Linked DNA regions of Homo sapiens: regions 1, 2, 4 and 5 are each linked to region 3. Evidence: promoter capture Hi-C in 16 types of primary human blood cells and fetal thymus (Javierre and others, 2016). All regions are on one chromosome and are shown on one strand. The core of a region is centred on a gene start or on the middle of the fragment in contact, and the rest is flanking DNA. Distances in the headings are between cores, read along the strand shown.

Region 1 (2,700 bases), core at 91-2,590, 240 kb before region 3:
TTTATTTTATTTTTGAGATGGAGTCTCGCTCTGTTGCCCAGGCCGGAGTGCAGTGGCATGATCTTGGATCACTGCAATCTCAGCCTCCCCGGTTCAAGCAATTCTCATGTCTCAGCCTCCGAGTAGGGGGGTTACAGGCGTGCACCACCATGCCCAGCTAATTTTTGTATTTTTAGTAGACACGGGGTTTCACCATGTTGGCCAGGATGGTCTTGATCTCTTGACCTCGTGATCCGCCCACCTCAGCCTCCCAAAGTGTTGGGATTATAGGTGTGAGCTGCCGCGCCCAGCTTATGGACCACTCTTTGTGTTCTATGTTCTAAAATTTACATTTTTATTACCAAATGTTTTATCTTCTGTTTCCCAATATGGATTGAGAGTCAATTATTTCACTACTAACTGAAAATCTGATTGCCCATTTCCTATGACAAAAATTTCCATCAGCCCCAATTAAACAGCCCTGCCACACAGAAAGAGCCTGGATGTACACGTGCCTCCCCTGTCACAGCAGCAGCAGGGAGAACAGAACGTGAGTTCTTATCCTGGCTGCACAGCTGAAGAGCTCTACACTTCCCTGCAGCACGCAGCAAAGGATCTCATGAGCTGAAATATAAAGTTACACGTATTTACTAACTAGAAAGTGTATAAATGTTCGTTCATTAGATTAACAAAAGTGCATGCAAAAGTGCATTCTAAGTCTGACTGTGGCAGAAGAGGGTGGGTCAAGAATCTAGACACACTTATCCCCCGTTTACTCTAAAAGTAACTCAAACGTTTATGCTTTCCTGTTGTAGAAGCAGAAGCTTCATTTTCCTCAATTTCCTTATCTTCCTTTTCTGTCTTAGCAGTGAAAGTCACATTATTACAAATATTTCCAGCAATTATTGTGAAACAGTAAAAAACAGATCTCAGCTGGGCATGGTGGCTCGCGCCTGTAATCCTGACACTTTGGAAGGATCGGTTGAGCTCAGGAGTTCAAGACCACCCTGGGCAACACAGCAACACACCATCTCTACAAAAAGTAAAAAAAAAAAATCAGCCAGGCATGGTGATGCGTGCCTGCAGTACCAGCTACTTGGGAGATGGAGGCAGGAGGATGACTTCAGCCCAGGAGTTGGAGGCTGCAATGAGCTATGATCGTACCACTGCACTCCAGCCTGGGTGACAGAGCAAGACTCTGTCTCTAAAAGAAGGAAAAAAAAAACAAAAAACAAACAAACAAACAAAAAAACAAGGAGAATAGATCCCCAAATCAAGAAAAAGTTAAGTGGTTTAGCACCTAACACACCAAGCCTTATACAAAGCAGTTGATTTTTATACATCACCTCCTTTCCCACCAAAGAACAGCGGGAACTTAAACATTAACAGAACTGAACGGGTAGAATTTTGTATACAGGAGTCAGCTGGATGCCTGGGCAGATCAAACACAATAGCTTTAGTTCACAGCACAGTTAAGTATCTTTAGATAACTTCTGGTATTAGGAAAGCACATAGCCCTGCAAAGCACACTCCTTTCCTTTTGTCAAAGGCAAGTCAGACCAGTTTCAAGAGAATAATGGTACAACATGACAGGAGTCAACAACAAGAACGAACTCGCTCTTAAATGAAGTCCTTATGTATAAGGTCAACACTTAATTTAGTGGTTAGGGACTACGGCACTTGATAATGAGCTGAGGACTGCTGAGATTTAAGTACATTACAAAGGTTTTTCTTACCTATGAGCTGCATATAATCACAAGGGGAAGGAAAAAACCTCCTGGATTGAGAGAGAAAGATACACTAAAAATACAAGCACACCTACTTTAAGTGAGTAGAAACTGGGAATCTGTACAGAGTAGGTACAGAATGTTACAGGGACCAGCCTTATTTGGATATCCAAAGCTTCAGAAGATGACAAAAGATCTGAAAAATGTCACTTCAAATACATTGCCAAAATGGACTATACATTGGGCTATAAAGCAAACCTCAACAAATCTCAAGACTGACATCATGTATACATGCACTCTGACCACTTTAGGATTTAATTAGAGTTCAGTAACAAAGATTTTTAAAATATCTGAATGTTCAGAAATTATGCAATATACTTCTAAGTAATGTAAGTGAAAGAAAACATCAAACGGGCATGACAATTTGTACCTATATAATCTCAACTACTCAGGAGGCTGAGGTGGGAGGATTGCTTGAGCTCAGGAGTTTGAGGCTGCAGTGAACTTTGATCTCACCACTACACTCCAGACTGGGCAACAGAACAAGACTCTATCTCTTTAAATTAATAAATAAAAAGAAGGCATTAAATGGAAACCAGAACATATTCTGTGCTAAACAGTATGAAACTGCAATACATCAACATCTCTGGGATGCAGCTAAAACAGAGAATAAGGTGAGATTTTCATCGCTTTCAAAGCATATACGCCTGTAATCCTAGCACTTTGGGAGGCCAAGGTGGGCGGATCACGAGGTCAGGAGATCGAGACCATCCTGGCTAACACGGTGAAACCCCGTCTCTACTAAAAAAAAATACAAAAAATTAGCTGGGCGCCATGGCAGGCACCTATAGTCCCAGCTACTCGGGAGGCTGAAGCAGGAGAACGGTGTGAACCTGGGAGGCGGAGCTTGCAGTGAGCCAAGATAGCGCCACTGCACTCCGGCCTGAGCGAAAGAGCGAGACTCCGTCTCAAAAAAAAAATAAAAAATAAAAAA
Region 2 (2,839 bases), core at 163-2,662, 200 kb before region 3:
CCAACATGGCACATGTATACATATGTAACAAACCTGCACGTTGTGCACATGTACCCTAGAACTTAAAGTATAATAAAAAAATGAAAAAAAAATTATCTGGGCTTTGTGGTGCATGCCTGTAATTCCAGCTACTCGGGAGGCTGAGGCAGGATAATCGCTTGAACCCGGGAGGCAGAGGTTGTGGTGGGCCAAGATCGCGCCATTGCACTCCAGCCTGGGCAGCAAGAGAGAAACTCCATTTAAAAAAAAAAATCATAAGTCAGCTTTTATTTTAAAAAAGTATTACCTCTGCCACCACCCCCTACTCCACTAATCACTCCCTTCATTGGGTAGACCTGGGTCCAGATTGCTTTTGAAACACTAAAAAGGCATAGCAAATCAGCTTTGAGAAGAGGAAGCAGAAATATGTCATCACTGGAGCAGTGCTAATGGCTTCCTCATACTTTAAAGTCTTAACTATACTGAAGTCATGTTTAAAACCTCAGTGTATGAAGTTGCTTATATTAATAGGGACCCCCCTCCCCCCAACACGCTTTCTTTTTTGAAAGATGGCAGTAGGGGGCCGGGCATGGTAGCTCACGCTTGTAATTCCAGCACTTTGGGAGCCAAGGTGGGCAGATCACCTGAGGTCAGGAGTTTGAGGCCAGCCAACCAACATGGTAAAACCTCGTCTCTACTAAAAATACAAAAACTTAGCCAGGCATGGTGGCAGGCGCCTGTAATCACAGCTACTTGGGAGGCTGAGGCAGGAGAATCGATTGAACCCGGGAGGCGGAGGTTGCAGTGAGCCAAGACTGCACCATTGCACTCCAGCCTGGGAGACAGAGGGAGACTCCGTCGCAAAAAAAAAAAAGGAAGGGAGGGAGGGAGGGAGAAAGAGAGAGAGAGGGAGGGAGGGAGAGAGAGAGAGAGAGAGAGAGAAGGAAAGAAAGAAAAAAGAAAGAAAAAGAGAAAGAGAAAGAAAGAGAAAGAAAGAAAAAGAAAGAGAAAAGAAAGAAAGAAAGAAGAAAGGAAAAGAAAAGAAAGAAAGATGACAGCAGGGTCTAACAAGTTCACGTGCCACCTGGAGGCAGTGGTAGTCATCCATGCCTTCTCGGTGAGGCACTGTACGCCAGAGTGACTTTAAAGTATGAGGAAGCCATTAGCACTGCTCCAGGGACCACATATTTTTGCTTCCTCTTCTCCAAACTGATTTGCCATATTACTTTTGGAGGCTAGATTCAGGCCCAGTTAAAGCACAGGGTGAGTTATTCCTCTGTGACATTCTTTTGTCACCAAGGGGTCTTGTTAGAGAGGCGGTTAATGCCAGCTGATATATATATTATTCAAAGGTAGGGCTCAAGGTGTGATCTGAGGTTTTTTAAAGGTTAACATCATCATCAAGTACCCAGAGAAGTGCCAAAGAGAGGAAGATGGAAAGAGGCTGGTTCCATGGGAAAGGATTCCTCCTTGGCTTCATCCTCCACCTGCTGCTGCAAGTACCTTAAGATAAGAGCAAGAGCTGAGCAGACATGTAACTCCTGGGAAGCAGAGAAAACAGGCTAATATTTTTTATTCTGAGATAGTCAATGATTGGATGTTCGTTATGGTAAAAATGATGCTCGTGACACTGATGGCTTTGTACCTCTTCCTAGGATCCTAATATTTAGTTAACTCTTTTCTCTTCTTTTTTTTTTTTTTTTTGAGATGGAGTCTCGCTCTGTTACCCAGGCTAGAGTGCAGTGGCAATATCTCAGCCCATTGCAACCTTCACCTCCCAGGTTCAAACGATCTCATGCCTCAGCCTCCCAAGTAGCTGGGATTACAGGCACCTGCCACCGTGCCTGGCTAATTTTTGTATTTTTAGTAGAGATGGGGTTTCACCATGTTGGCCAGGCTGGTCTTGAATGCCTGTCCTCAGGTGATCTGCCCGCGTGGGCCTCCCAAAGTGTTGGGATTACAGGCGTGAGCCCCTGAGCCCAGCCTGGGAACTCTTTAAGATAATCCTAGTGATGAAGACTACTAAATGTTAGAACAATCACAGCACATAGTAAAGACACAGTAAATACTCATCAAATTGAAAAACTGAAATTGATTTGTTTCCTTAAGATCCCATATATCTCACACTACCTATCTGATTACTCCCCTTATCATTAATTTATTAGCATCTATGCCATATTAATACAGCGAGGCGGAGAACTGTGAGTGCAAAATTTGTCACTGACATCACCCACATGGCTCCAGGTTGGAGGTAAGCAAGAGAAGGACACTGGCAGAAGGTGGAGAGGTTGCAGTGAGATTGTTAAGGACATGGCAGGACACTGTAAAGTGGCGGTCGGGGTTGAGTTTGCATACACATCTGGACAGGTTTTGCATGGGGACAAAACAATGGCACTGAGGATGGATCCTTGACTCAGCTCACCTCATCAGTTTCCACCATTTGCCTACCAGCTCAGCCTACTCTTCCTGGACCAGGAAGGAGGAGCTCACATGCTTCTCCCAGTGCCCCCTGTTTTCTCTCCATGCAGAAACACTCTCCAGGCCCCCCAGCCCTGGCCCTCCTCTCTCAGTCTCTGCTCACTACAGGAAATGGCGACACTTTGATTATCAATTGCCCAGGCTTTGGCCAGCACAGGGTGGACCCTGCAGCCTTTCAAGCAGTGTTTGACAGAAAGGCTATTGGTCCAGTCACCAACTACAGTGTCGCCACTCATGTCAACATCTCCTTCACCTTGTCTGCCATCTGGAAGTTGTAAGTCCTCACCCAACATTGCAGTGGTCTAGTGGTGAGCAGTGGACCCTCTGACTGGATTTTTTTTTTTTTTTTTTGAGATGGAGTCTTGCTCTTGTCACCCAGGCT
Region 3 (2,768 bases), core at 247-2,746:
ACCATCAGCCCATCCACTGTTTCTCCCTAGGCCTGAAAGAGGGACCCTCGTTCAGGATGAAGCTGAGAACAGACTCAGTAGAGAAAGGGGGAGAGAGGTGAATGGAACCATGACCCAGGTAGTATGGAAAGAGGGCTAGGACCCAGCTGGAGCTCCCTGTGTGTTGGGTACGTGTGACTGTGTCTGTGCTCCCTGTATCATTCCTGTGCATTTCCACCCATGAAATTCCCTGGGAAAAGGTCAAGCTCTCTCCACCATGCTAAGTAGGGTGAGCAAAGGAGATGGTTGGGGTTGAGGGCTCAGATACTCAAGGAGGCAGGGATCCCCCGGGGGGATGATCCCTGGTGATAGTGATTGAAATCAGAAGGAGAGAGTTAATGCGGAGGAGTGAGAACCATGGGCCCGACTCGAAAGCTCACTTCCTACTGGCTGTCCTCCATCCCCAGCTCTCCTCAAGCTCTCTCTGCAGAATCTCAGTATGGCATCTGCCAAAAAGCTTACATGGATGATCCCCAAACATGGTCATCTCCTCTCACTTCCCCAGGGCTCTCAGACTCTTCCTTGGGGGACCTGGGAGAGGTTTTCCGGACCTTCCTACTTTTTGACAGCATAACACTGTCAAGCACATGCAAAGTCTGCCAATAACAAGGGGCCCTCCTGACAAGCAGAGATGTTTTCTCTTCAGGGCTGCGGTGATGGGTGGGGGTCACTGCTATGAGGGGACGGTCTGCAGCCATAAGAAGGCTCTTCAGGCTAGAAGGCTTCACTCCCAAGGCCCGCACAGCTGAAGAGACCAAGGGGTTATAGGCTGAGGGCGCTATTGTGCACACCCTCCCACCCCAGCAGAAGTGGTTGGCACTGCAGCGATGCCAAGGCCGGCTGCTTGGGGGTGGGAGGAGGTCGCTGCAGTGATGAGGAATCCCTGCTTGGAGTGAGTGGTCACTGAAGTGGCTGCATGAACTAAAAGTACCTGCAGGGATGGGGGAGGTTTTCTGCAGTGATGAAGAGCACTTTGCAAAGGAAAGGGGCCAGCTTCTTGGGGGAAGAGTCCTGCGGTGACGGTGATGGGGGGCTGGGGGGTTCGCTGCAGTCAGGAGGGAGGGTCTCTGCAGCGATGGGAAGCAACCCAGGGCAGGGGGTGGGGTGGGCTGGGGAATGGGATGCCGTCGTGGTAATGGGATAGCTGGGGTCGCGGCAGTGTCGGTGGCACTTGCAGGACGCCTGATTCCTGAAGAATGGAAAGGGTGGGGTCTCTGAGGCCTCGGTCCTGCAGTGACGGGGATCCGTGCGGCGGCGGGGACGCGGTCCCTGCACTGCGGTGCCCAGTCTGGCTCGGGCTGCCGCGGCTGGCGCGGAGGCGGTACCGCGCCCGAAGGAGGGGGGAGCGCCAGCCCCGCCGCAGCAGCAGCAGGCGTGGCCAGGGCAGGCTGGAGGGGCGGCCTCTCGGAACGGGGGCGGGACCACCGCCGGCAGGGCCCGCGCCCCTGCCGGGACTCAGAGCCGCTGCAGCCACAGTCACGAACTGGCGGCCGGCAGGTGCCGGGACCGAGGGCCACCCGGAGCGCAGAGGCGGCACCACCCACACGGATCCCGTGGGCACCTAGAACTCCGCGGAGGGCGCGACGGTGAGGCTGAGACTGCCACAGGGAGCGGGGCGATCCCCAGAGCCAGCCCGCGGCATCCCCTGCGCGGGCCGCGGCCACTGCAGGTGCCCCCTCCTCCCACATCAGCTCTGCCGGGGTAGGGAGCGGTAACCTGGCGGCTCCCACGGACTCTCCCTGGCCCGACACCTCTCCCGGGCTTGCCTCCCAAAGACCCCCTCTTTTCGCTTTCCCAGCTCGTTCTTCCCACCCTTAACCCCTCCACTCCGGCCAGCACCCCCGTCGGATGAGGCACCAGGGAGAGAAAGACCAAGGCCCTTTCGGCGCCCCATCCACCCTGCCCCCGCGATCCCTCGCAGGGCCGGGGGCCTCCGGGGGGATTCGGGCCCTTTAAACCTCCGCCTTCCCGGAGCATCTTCCATCTCCACCCGCGCCGCTTCCGACAGCTGGCGGCCGCGGGGGGCCCCGGGGGGCCGGCAGGTACGGGGGTGGCTGCGAGGTTGGGAGTGGGCGGTGGAACAGCTGTGACCGCCCCCACCCCCGGGGGAGCCGCGGCGGGACTGCTGGGCGCCGAAGCGCGCGTTAATCATTAACCCTCCGCGGCCCGGCTGCCCAGGTAACGCGTGAGGATGCCCTCCTCGCCACCACGCCTGCCGCCCCCTTATCTCCCCCGCCACCTGTCGCCCTCAGGAGCTCCCGCTCGGCCTCGCGCCCCGGCAGGCCCCGTCCGGGTGCTGGAGTGAGACTCTCGCGCTGGCCTCTGGAGCGCGGGGTGGGCGTCCCGTCACCCTGCGCCCAGCTTCCCCGGCCCGTTCCCGCAGGGCCGGCCTCCCGGCGCCATGCCCGGCCTGTACTGCCCCTCCAGCTGGACGCCGCTGCCGCTCACGGACTCCTGGGTCCGGGCCTGCGCCAACGGCCCCTGCCTCAGCGTGCGGGCCCGGCTCACCTACCGCAACCCGCAGCCGCAGCCGGTGGACGGTGAGGCCCGGGTGGGGCGCGGGCGCGGCGGGGGGTGCGCCGGGCAGGGTCCGACGCCGCCTCCCGCCGCCCTCCCCAGGCGTGTTCGTGTACCCGCTGGCCGAGGCCGAGGTGGTGTCCGGCTTCGAGGCCGAGGCCGCCGGACGGCGCGTCTCCTTCCAGCTGCAGAGCCGGCGCCGCTCGCAGGCC
Region 4 (2,700 bases), core at 12-2,511, 130 kb before region 3:
CAGCTGAGGTGAGGAGTTCAAGACCAGCCTGGACAACATGGTGAAACCCTGTCTCTAATAAAAATACAAAAATTAGCTGGGTGTGGTGGCACAAGCCTGTAGTCCCAACTACTCAGGAGGCTGAGACAGGAGAATCGCTCAAATCAAGGAGGTGGAGGCTGTAGTGAGCCAAGATCACGCCACTGCACTCTAGCCTGGGCAACAGAATGAGACTCCATCTCAAAATAAAATAAAATATGGAAGGCATCCATACTTGCATTTTGCATTCTTCGTATGTAATCATATTGTCAAAGACAAATTATGTCATAATCTATTGTAAATAACACTTTTCCCCAGACCTACCATAAAGTTTCTGCAATGTATTGTCTTCCAGTTGCAATAAAAATTACTGAGTTTCATCAAAAATTAATTAATTAATTAATTAAAATAAACACAGTTGAGGAGAGAATTTTTTTCCTGGAAGCTAGATCTGAAGAAATCATTAGGGACAGAGATAAAGAGGTAGAAAATAGGAAAGAGAGGTGTGCTAGGCAGAATAACGGCCCCCAGAATTTGTCCACATCCTAATCTCTGGAACCTTAGGTTATATGGAAAAGGGGAGTTAAGGTTGCAGATGGAATTAAGGTTGTTAATTATCGGACTTTGAGATGGGGAGACTATCCTGGATTATCCAAATGGACACAATGCAATCACAAAGGCTCTTATAAGTGGAAGAAGGAGAGAGAAACAAATAAGAACCAGAGAGATGAGATGCCTTGTGAGAAACATTGGCCTGATGTTGCTGGTTTTGAAGATGGAGAAGTAAAAATAATGAACCAAGAAATACAGGCAGTTTAAAAGCTGGAAAAGGCCGGGTACAATGGCTCATGTCTATAATCCCAGCACTTTGGGAGATCAAGGTTGGAGGATCACTTGAGGCCAGGAGTTGGAGACAAGCCTAGGCAACAAAGCGAGACCTCATTTCTACTAAAAAAAAAAAAAATAGCCAAGCTTGGTGGCTCACACCTGTGAGGTCCCAGCTACTTGGGAGGCTGAGACGGAAAGATCCCTTGAGCCCAGGAGGTCAAGGCTGCAGTGAGTCGCGATTGCGCCACTGCACTCCAGCCTGGTCAACAGAGTGAAACCCTGTCTCAAAAAAAAAAAAATCTGGAAAAGGCAAGGAAATGGATTCTCCTCTAGAGCCTCCAGAGGGAATGCGGTCCTGCTGACACATTCATTTTAGCCCAGTGAGACCCATTTCAAACTTCTGGCCCACAGAACAGTAAAATAACAAATTGTGTTTATTTAAGCCACTGGGTTTGTGATTTGTTACAACAGCAATAAAAGGCATGTAAGATAGAAGGAAACCATTCAACACATGTCTAATAAGAAAAATAGAGGAAGTGAAACATTTATAAATGTCTGAGAATTTTCCAAAATTGAAGAGATGAGTCTTCAGACCAAGGGATCTCACCAAGATCTGCAAGTTGATCACGTATGAACTATCTATAACCATTTACGTTGCAGTGAAATACCTAAGACTAAGATAAAGTCTTAAAAGCAGACTGAACCTTAAGCATAGGCAAGAACAAGACAACCAGAACACTCTTTGAAGGAAGGTTACAAATGTCAGTGGTCAACCAATGCTATTAGTATTCAAAGTCAGACTCTAGGTGTGGCCTGTGCTGCTTTAATCTGGGCATTCCTGGGTCCCAGTACATGTTCAGAGAAGAACTTAGACAAAGAAGATGGAAGGAAGCTGGTTCCACAGGAAAAGATTTTCCTTCTACCTCCTTCTCGGTTTTCTGCTTCAAGGTAAGAAAGGAGCAATGATGGGGGAAGGCGGAAGAAGGAGGACCTCTCTCTAGTAGAACATCTAGGAACTTTTTTCAAATTTCCAACTCCTAGAGATTGTCTAAGATGGATAGAGTTCTTTCATAGCTACATTACTAAGATGCCCACATAGACTTTCCTTTTCTGAAAGACGGAAAATCCCCTTCCAGTTACATGCCAAACAAGAGCACTTTCATTTTCCTTCTCGAAAAATAGAGTTCAACACCAGCAAACTTTATCCTTTCACATATGGATATCCAGTTTTCCCAATACTACTTGAAAAGTCTGTCTTTTCTCCATTGGTACCCTACATGGAAGACAACCATCCACGATCGTCTTCTCTTGTATTTAGCTTCTATATCCATCCATCTTTCTATCCACAGGTGTAATTCTTTCTCTCTACAGGTATGAAACCCAAACCATTGTAGCAAAGTGCCCACCTCCTTTAGCCATAATTTCCCTGTCCATCTGCTGGATCCAAGGGCTCTAGGTTAGGTAAGGTGCCAGAAGGCAGCAGGTCAAGGGTGAAAGTAGAATGTGCTTCTCTTCCAGGGGGTCAGCATGGTAGAGAGACAAGAACATGGGATTTGGAGACAGGTGGACCTGGGTTTGAATCTTGGTGTCTCACGTTGCTAGTTTTATAAACTTGGATGCACTGCTTAACTTATCTGAGCTCTGGTTTCCTCATCTGTAAAACAGAACCTACCTTGCAGGGTTGTGAGGATTCAGTAAGAGAAGGAGGGAAGCACAGTGTCTGGCACTTGGTAAAAGTGCCAATAACTGTCATCTCTCCTCGTTAGATTATTCCATGACTTTGGATAAGGAGGCACAGGAGAGGACTGAACCAGAGGTGACTTTAAAGGCCAGCACAGGGAAGAGACACAAATT
Region 5 (2,700 bases), core at 134-2,633, 220 kb before region 3:
ACATAAGGTCTAGACAAAAGGACATGAGGAAGTTATAAAACTGGCACCACGAGAAGCATTTGACACTGATTACATTAAGCCTGTTTCTCTGAAGTTAAACCTGAATGGAAAAGCATTCTATAATACACAGTAGGGTACAGAAAAGACTCATTAGCAAGAAAATGTTCATTAATAAAGCAATGGCTTTAACACAACCAAAGAGGGAAAGGTAGTATCAGGCTAAGGAAAGGCCAGTGTCAGCTGCAAAGTCCATTATCTTTCTCAAATTTTCACATAACAAATACACCAACAAAAACCTCAACTTCCTAAACCTAGTCCATTCTGCCTTATTAGGTACTTTTGTAAGAAAAGGTATAATGCTTTTTTTCCTCAGGAAAAAGAATATTTTCTCGAGGTAAAAACGCATCTTCATTATTTCCCTTGGAGGAAATTAGATTATTATCTAAAGACTGCTTAACTTATGAATTCGCTTGAAAAACATACTGATAATCCCACAACTATCTAGAATTGTTCTGAAATCTGAGTCTCTCCAAAGGATTCACATTTTATTTTATTTTTTATTTTTTTGGAGACGGAGTCTCACTCTGTTGCCCAGGCTGGAGTGCAGTGGCGTGATCTTGGCTCACTGCAACCTCTGCCTCCTGGATTCAAGCAATTCTCCTGCCTCCCTCCTGAGTAGCTGGGAGTACAGGTGCCCACCACCACACCTCACTAATTTTTGTATTTTTAGCAGAGACAGGGTTTCACCGTGTTGGCCAGGCTGGTCTCAAACTCCTGACCTCAAGTGACCCACCCACCTCAACCTCCCAAAGTGCTGGGATTACAAGCATGAGCCACTGTGCCTGGCCAGGTTCACATTTTAAACACACATGACAGAAAGTAGAAGAAAACACCAATTTTGTTTAGGTACATGAATGAAGCTTAATTGGCTTTATATTCCCTGTCATTGACCCCATGACCCCCTCCCCCTCAATAAGTTGTCTTCTGTTAAGTATAGCCTTTTCAGAAGGCACCAACATAGAATAAAAGTGAAAAAGAGGAGAATGCTCAGAACAGACCGGGTGAGAGGGTGACAGCCAGCCTCTCTTCCACTTATTGAGTGCTTACTATGGACCAGAGACTTATCAATAACCATAAATTCTTAACAGTAACCTAAAGCCAATAAAGAAAAACACATTTTTTTTTGAGACTGAGTCTCGCTCTATCGCCCAGGCTGGAGTGCAGTGGCATGATCCCAGCTCACTGCAACCTCCGCCTCTTGGGTTCAAGCGATTCTCGTGCCTCAGCCTCGCAAGTATCTGGGATTATAGGCGCCCGCCACCACGCCTGGCTAATTTTTGTACTTTTAGTAGAGACAGGTTTTCACCATGTTGGTCAGGCTGGTCTCGAACTCCTGACCTCAGATGATCCACCCGCCTCAGCCTCCCAAAGTGCTGGGTTTATAGGCGTGAGCCACCGCGCCCGGCCAAAAAATAAGTTTCTAAATTACCCATTATACGAAAAAAGATGTGTTTTAGTACAACAAGCAGGTAAGAGACTCTTAGGAAAGGAAACTGACCGGTCGAGTTCTCCTGAACTTGGAATCTTCACGGTCTCTGTGCGTCCCAGAAGTGCTGGTTCTCTCCCTCACACTTCTATACCCAGGACTGGGGATGATATACTCTTTTCCTATGTCGATATCCTTCATCTTCTCTGAGTGGAGGTTCCAGGGCTCACAGACTGTTAGTTTCACATCAGAATTCCTGAAATTAAAAATTCATCAAGAAATAGATTATTTCCTAAACAGTACTTAACCATAAGCTCAAGTGCCTTAAAAATAGGAAAAAAAAAAAAAAGGCAAAAGTACTAAAGCTTTCTACTGTTATAGCTACAAAAATTAATTTTCAAAAAAAGTTCAAAGATTTTGATTTCATTTTTTTAAAGAAAAAGATTCAGTATAAGAGAATCAAGAAAAATTACCTTCTCCCAACTCTAAGGGAAAAAAAATTAGAAACAGTAAACACACTAGTAAAGAGACACCCATTCTCTTCAACTAAGCTCAAATCCAGTGTATACAATAGAAAGGTTGGTTTTTTTTTTAAAGACTTTCTAGAAACAATTTCAGTTTGTCCCAAGTATTAAAAACTCCACAATTTTAAAGTGGACATCATTTCTTCTACTAAATTTTACTAAATAAAAACTTACCAAACACTTATTCTACCAATGATATATTCCATCTCTGCCTTTTTATAATTAACTAATGGGTTAGCTGGTGTTATTTTAAAGCTCCATGAAGTTATCCAGTTAAAACAATGTTATAACTTAACTTCAAACACAAATTCCCTGGGTACTGAAAATGTTCTAAAACTAGATAGTGGTAATGGTTGCACAATGCAGTGAATACATTGAAAAAAAACACACTGAATTTATACTTTAAAAGAGTGAATTTCATGTCATATAAATCCTATGGCAACAAAGCTGTTAGTAAAAAACAATAACAAAAACAAATTCTCCACCCTGTATTACTAAGTCTTACCTAGTTTTTACCTGAAACTCTATTCTAAACCACTGCTTGCCTGGCTAAGTCTAATCAATATGCTGTATCAACTCAGGTCACTTAAAAACAAAAAACACATACATACTTCTCCAAAATGTTTCCCCCCTCTAAGAAGGGTCACAGCCTCCCAGAGACAAGCTGAGAAAACACCTTTCATACTAGCC

The links. The method cuts DNA at HindIII sites, captures the fragments that hold promoters and counts their contacts. A CHiCAGO score of 5 or more calls a contact.
Region 1: a fragment that was not itself captured here is called in contact with the fragment with the promoter of VWA5B2 in region 3 in 1 of 17 cell types (M1 macrophages); the score reaches 6.7 in M1 macrophages.
Region 2: a contact is called between the fragment with the promoter of HTR3D here and the fragment with the promoter of VWA5B2 in region 3, in 4 of 17 cell types (megakaryocytes, endothelial precursors, M1 macrophages and 1 more). The highest score is 6.5, in megakaryocytes.
Region 4: the fragment with the promoter of HTR3E here is called in contact with the fragment with the promoter of VWA5B2 in region 3 in 9 of 17 cell types (endothelial precursors, M1 macrophages, M0 macrophages and 6 more); the score reaches 11.0 in endothelial precursors.
Region 5: a fragment that was not itself captured here is called in contact with the fragment with the promoter of VWA5B2 in region 3 in 1 of 17 cell types (endothelial precursors); the score reaches 6.9 in endothelial precursors.

The regions. Positions count from the first base shown.
Region 1 is chr3:183,990,113-183,992,812 of GRCh38, forward strand. All of the region lies in intron 2 of ABCC5 (ATP binding cassette subfamily C member 5), which reads right to left. Among named protein-coding and RNA genes, the nearest start is that of ABCC5-AS1, 15 kb to the right of the region's middle. RefSeq lists an enhancer at 1-461. The HindIII fragment of the contact is 1,078 bases long and covers 802-1,879 here.
Region 2 is chr3:184,030,330-184,033,168 of GRCh38, forward strand. It overlaps HTR3D (5-hydroxytryptamine receptor 3D), which reads left to right and starts at 1,413. Exons shown (of 8, transcript NM_001145143.1): 1 at 1,413-1,478. The coding sequence starts at 1,413. The HindIII fragment of the contact is 12,637 bases long and covers 1-2,839 here.
Region 3 is chr3:184,228,089-184,230,856 of GRCh38, forward strand. VWA5B2 (von Willebrand factor A domain containing 5B2) reads left to right here and starts at 1,497. Exons shown (of 20, transcript NM_001390846.1): 1 at 1,497-1,625; 2 at 2,292-2,579; 3 at 2,659-2,768. The coding sequence starts at 2,441. RefSeq lists a silencer at 1,265-1,604. The HindIII fragment of the contact is 8,832 bases long and covers 495-2,768 here.
Region 4 is chr3:184,095,803-184,098,502 of GRCh38, forward strand. HTR3E (5-hydroxytryptamine receptor 3E) reads left to right here and starts at 1,262. Exons shown (of 9, transcript NM_001256613.2): 1 at 1,262-1,794. The coding sequence starts at 1,728. The region is part of intron 2 of HTR3E-AS1 (HTR3E antisense RNA 1); the gene reads right to left. The HindIII fragment of the contact is 4,461 bases long and covers 989-2,700 here.
Region 5 is chr3:184,012,706-184,015,405 of GRCh38, forward strand. It overlaps ABCC5 (ATP binding cassette subfamily C member 5), which reads right to left. Exons shown (of 30, transcript NM_005688.4): 2 at 1,559-1,742. The coding sequence starts at 1,687. Among named protein-coding and RNA genes, the nearest start is that of ABCC5, 3.8 kb to the right of the region's middle. The HindIII fragment of the contact is 931 bases long and covers 919-1,849 here.